2 separate regions of the Homo sapiens genome follow, and region 1 is linked to region 2. Evidence: promoter capture Hi-C in 16 types of primary human blood cells and fetal thymus (Javierre and others, 2016). All regions are on one chromosome and are shown on one strand. The core of a region is centred on a gene start or on the middle of the fragment in contact, and the rest is flanking DNA. Distances in the headings are between cores, read along the strand shown. Region 1 overlaps TRAFD1 (TRAF-type zinc finger domain containing 1). Region 2 holds the start of GIT2 (GIT ArfGAP 2).

Region 1 (2,700 bases), core at 39-2,538, 2.1 Mb after region 2:
TTCACCATGTTGGCTAGGATGGTCTCGATCTCCTGACCTTGTGATCTGCCTGCCTCGGCCTCCCTAAGTCCTGGGATTACAGGTGTGAGCCACTGCGCCTGGCCAGGATGTTATTATTATTATTATTTTTGAGACAGGGTCTCACTCTGTCACCCAGGCTGGAGTGCAGTGGCATGATCATGGCTCTCTGCAGCCTTAAACTCCTAGGCTTAAGCATTCCTCTTGCACATTCCTCCTGCCTCGGCCTCTCGAGTAGCTGGGACTACAGGCACACATCACCATGCCTGGGTAATTTTTTTTTTTTGTATTTTTTGTAGACATGACGTTACCCCATGTTGTGGCCAGGTTGGTCTTAAACTCCTGGGCTCAAGTGATCCGCCTGCCTCGGCCTCCCAAAGTACTGAGATTACAGGCATGAGCCACTGTACCCAGCCTAGTAAAAGTATTTTATTTTATTATTTTTATTTTTTAAAACTCCCTTATCCAATAAAATTATTTTAAATTGAAAATTTTAAAATAAGAAAATCCCAAGGGACTGGATATTGAATAAAATGCTTTAACATGCAGGTTTGGGTGACAGTTTCTGTATACTAGTTTTTTATTTGTTTTTTTGCATGTCATCTTTAAAGCAGAAATGAAAGAGAAAGTTCATGTCTTCCTTTGTGGTTTTCAGGAAGAGCTAAAGATGGCTGAATTTCTAGATGACCAGGAAACTCGACTGTGTGACAACTGGTAAGACATTAAATCTAAGAAATGTTAGTGGAATGAGGACAGTCAAGCTTAATCACTATCATTTCCTGATTTAAAAACTGTTAGTGAAGACTGGCACAGTCTTGAGTTAAGCTTTCTATTTTGGTGTTTATAACCCACATGAATTACAAGAAAGAGCATCTCTTTCCTGATGAAATGAAACCGGTTGTAAAGTTAATAATCAGCTGGTTCCTGTTGGGGTTTTCCTAAGAACTTATCTTGGTATCTTGGTGCTATACAAGTGCTGTTACTGTAAGCTGACAAAAAAAGCAAAGCAGAACTGTCTGCTATGTTTATTACTTTATTTTCCTTCACTGGGTACTTCTTTCACAATGTGCTATGTTTACCTTAGCAAACTGTGGTAGAAAGAGATGTGGAATAAGGAAAATAGTTTAACTCATTGGTGGAATATTTGAGCCAAATAACATTTTTGTCATCATCGTTGTCTTTTTCTTTCTTCTCAGCCTAACTTTGGCAGAATTAGAATATAATTAGAGCAACAGCTGGTTACAATATTCTTTACCTGCTTGGAATTAAGATTTCATCTCATTGTAGGTGTCTTGCCATATTGTAGAGTATTTCTGCTATGCCACTATCACTTTCTACCATTTCATAAACTATTTTAGTTTTGTTTGGGTTTTATATGTATAGCTACTGAAACAGAGTAATCAGAAACAAATAATCAAAAGAAAACATGATTTTGTAAGAAAAGAGACACATTGGTTTTTAGCATTAGTTAAGATACACCTATTTTATCAGTCCACTCCAATTAGGAGGAATCTCAAGCCTAGGACAAAATATAAATAACTATGCTAAGAGAGTTAAAGGGTGAGTTAATGGAAAGCTAGTGAAAAACAATGCTATTCAAAGCCAAAGAAATTAAAGAAAAAAGCAGATTAGCATAGAAGGCTGACTAAACCTGTAAAGAATTAATTTCTGGCTGTTTGTGTTTAGTGTTTGGAAAGTTCTTGGGAATTTTTCTGGAAGCTTTGGTTTGCCTTTCAGCTATTTCTATCTAAATGAAATTTCACCTCTAATTTGCTAGCCCTTCCTTGAGACTTTTAGCAGTTTTATCTGGATACGGAATTGTGTGCTCATTTATCTCACTTAAAACATCTTCATTTTCTCCGAAGGTAGGAAGTAAGCATATTAGTATTTGGTCTGGTTGGAATGTTTGGTAGGAATATGTTGGCAGTTAAATTTTAAAAGAAAAAAACCCAGCAGGCAACTGTTTTATATAATTGTTGCAAATATCTTTTTTATTTCAGCATTTCCTAAGAGGTGAATATGTGCAATAGTAAATGCTTTGTGGTCTTACTTGACAGCTGCTTTTGATTCTTGTTGCTTCATATTATGATGGTGTGGTCCTTAATATTTTTTGTTTTAATTCTAAAGTTTTAGGGGCCTTGTGTATGTAGTATGTCAACAAGTTATCCTGAACAGCCTTGTAAAGTAAATGCTAGACATTTAGTGTCTCCATATTTACCATTAAAATAAAAATTATTGCCAATATTATGAAAAAGGAACCCAGGTTTTCTACACCCTAAGCAGTAATTACTGGCTTTAATTTTCATGGCATTTGTACATACATGATTTACAATCACAATATAACATTTCTTCTTTCACTTTGTTGGTATACTATATGTAACTTAGCTATTCCTTTCTTGCTTAGGTATTTTTAATGACTTTCATTTTTTACCATTCTATGATACTGTAATGAAAATATTCATACATAATCCCAAGAGTAGGATTATTGTGTTACAGAGTATATAATTTTATGGTCCTAGAAATGAATTTTCAGACTGTTTTTAGGCAGTTTATACTACCACCAGTAATGTATTAAAGTATTCATTTCACAACATCTTTAAAAAGTTGGGATGTATTATTTTAACTAAATTAATTCAAAATGAGTAGTTTCCTTAGAAAGCTAAAAATTTGAGAGAAATATGG
Region 2 (2,700 bases), core at 177-2,676:
GTAACACCTGCACTGTACGGGCCATAAAACAACCACATGAGGTTTGAGTTATCACAGTTCTATTTACAATTGGTCTCCACTTCCAAATGACAAGCTTAAGATCAGAACAGTTGCAAAGCCAGTGGTGTTCAATGATTTAATTAAGATTGTTTATCGGACACTATTGTGCCAAGAAAGCCATGTTACCTTCGAATTAACTCAAAGCCAATACATCCAAGCACCTAAAACAGCATGTAATAATCTATCCAGAGACCTGACAATTCAGTTGCAATTGCTAAGACACACTTGATCTCTAAATGTGAATATTATGTATGAACAGTTATGCATCATTATGAAGGAATGGCTTTAGCGTTTCAATGCCCCTATATTGCTGGTGATTTTGCGTTTGTTTCCGTTGTAATCAACGTATGATTTAGATAGTCAAATATAGCTTTAAGGGACTACAAGAGTTCTACTGTAGACAGCATAATGCAAAAAAGAAAAGCCTTAGATGATATGATTCTACGAGTATTCATTGAATCTTCCTCACCACTAAGCGTGATACTCCCGATTATCCTCATTGAAAAAAATGAGGAAATCAAGCAAGTGACCAAGTGAAGTCACCAGCCCAAGGTCAGCCAGAAGCAAAATCTAGTTTGAACCCAGGCCGTTCAGATCCTCAAACTTGAGACAAGCACTGCCTCCTAAGTGCTGGTTGTGTTTGGAAGACCCCGATCTCCTGGCAATTCTCCCGGGCAGAGTAGCTGTCGGATGTCAGCAGCGGGGAAGTCATCTACGGGGACCCTCTGGCGAGTCTCAGGGAGTGTCATCCTCCCCGGGCAGGACACCCAGGCGGAGAAAGGGTCTAGTGGGAGGTGACACCTGCAGCCTCTGGAGGCTGCAGCCGGGAGGACGCTCACATTTTACTTCTGTAATTGGCTTTCCTGTGGATTGCCCAAGCCCCTTCCTGTTGGGGGAGCAGCCCTGGCCCCCGTCACCTCCCCAGTTGGCCTAGGACGGAGGGAACGGGAGGGAACGAGAGGGAAGGGAGGGCCGCGAGGGACGGGGAGGGCGGCGGCCCCCTGCCCGCCCGGCTCTGACAGGCCCGGGACGGTTCCCACCCCAAGGCCGCCCAGGGACCTCTTCGTTGCGACCCTAGCCGCGGGATGCAGCCTGACCTGAGGGGGCGGCCCCGGGGTAGGGGTCCGGGCCAGGAAAGCAGAGGGGAGCGGGCCCGGCCGGTGCGACTCACCCGGCCCGCTGCAGTCAGCGCACACCTCGCTGCTCCGGAGCCGTTTCGACATGGCTCCCACCTCCCACCTGCGGGGAACTAGAGGCCGGGGGACAGCAAAGGCGGCGGTGGCGGCGGCGCTTCCGCTCTAACGGGTCCCAGCTGCGGCGGCGCTGACGGCGGCGCCTCTCCCCTCAGCGCCTTGCAGCCTTGGCACAGCACGCACGCGCGGGGAGGTGCCCTTCGGCGAGTGTCAGGTCATGTGACCGGAAAGGGCACTCTGCCTTGTCGCCATCTTGAGTGAGGGCAGGAGACTGCCCGAGTATCATCTGTCCTACCTTTAAATATTGAATTTGGGTCTTCTTCTCTGGCAGAGATTCCCCTCGTCCCAACTGATTAATACCAGGGGAAGTAGCAATATCTTGTGATGAGAACCCTGCAGCCACAACCTTCCTGAGGCAATCAATGGTCAAGTTCATTCATTCATTCCTTGATTCAACAAATGTTTATCAAGCACTTACCATGCTTTATATACTGTCCCAGCCACTGGAGAAACAGCAGTGAGCAAAGACTGAATTTCTAGTCCTTATGAAGCTTGCATTTTACTGGGGTAAAGTAAAATAAGAATATATTATATGATTCCAGGCTGGGCGTGGTGGCTCACTCTTGTAATCTCAACTCTTTGGAAGGCTGAGGCAGGAGGATCACTTGAGGCAGGAGTTCGAGACCAGCCTGGGCAACATGGTGAAACCCCATCTCTACTAAAAATACAAAAATTGGCCGGGCGCGGTGGCTCACGCCTGTAATCCCAGCACTTTGGGAGGCCGAGGCGGGTGGATCACGAGGTCAGGAGTTCAAGACCAGCCTGGCCAACATGGTGAAACCCCGTCTCTACTAAAAATACAAAAATTAGCCGGGCACAGTGGCAGGAGCCTGTAATCTCAGTTACTTGGGAGGCTGAGGCAGGAGCTTGAACCCAGGGGGTGGAGGTTGCAGTGAGCTGAGATCACGCCATTGCACTCCAGCATGGGCGACAGAGTGAGACTCCGTCTCAAAAAAAAAAAAAAAAAAAAAAAAATTAGCCGGGCGTGGTGGCGCATGCCTGTAATCCTAGATACTCAGGAGGCTGAGGCATGAGAATCGCTTGAGCCTGGGAGGTGGACGTTGCAGTGAGCAGAGATCGCGTCACTGCACTCCAGCCTGGGGGACAGAGCGAGACTGTCTCAAAAACAACTTCAACAACAACAACAAAAATAACAAAAAAGAATATATTAGATGATTCCTTAGGCTTCAGTTTTAATCTCATGTTCAAAATTAAGATAATGCATTGTTTACTTCTAGTCCACGATTTGTTTTTGTATGGCTTGCTACTTAAGAATGATTTTTACATTTTTAAAGGGTTGCGAGATGAAAATGAAGAAGAGAGAGAGGGAAATAAAGAAAAAGAGGAAGAAGAATATGCGACAAAACTTGTATGTGACCAGCAAAGT

The links. Contacts are between HindIII fragments. The CHiCAGO score rates a contact against its expected background, and 5 or more counts as called.
Region 1: a contact is called between a fragment that was not itself captured here and the fragment with the promoter of GIT2 in region 2, in 1 of 17 cell types (monocytes). The highest score is 5.7, in monocytes.

What each region holds. Positions count from the first base shown.
Region 1 is chr12:112,129,838-112,132,537 of GRCh38, forward strand. TRAFD1 (TRAF-type zinc finger domain containing 1) reads left to right here. Exons shown (of 12, transcript NM_006700.3): 2 at 674-732. The coding sequence starts at 686. Among named protein-coding and RNA genes, the nearest start is that of TRAFD1, 5.6 kb to the left of the region's middle. RefSeq lists an enhancer at 877-926. The HindIII fragment of the contact is 894 bases long and covers 842-1,735 here.
Region 2 is chr12:109,994,942-109,997,641 of GRCh38, forward strand. GIT2 (GIT ArfGAP 2) reads right to left here and starts at 1,427. Exons shown (of 20, transcript NM_057169.5): 1 at 1,232-1,427. The coding sequence starts at 1,283. RefSeq lists enhancers at 698-747, 1,438-1,597 and a silencer at 1,078-1,167. The HindIII fragment of the contact is 1,710 bases long and covers 93-1,802 here.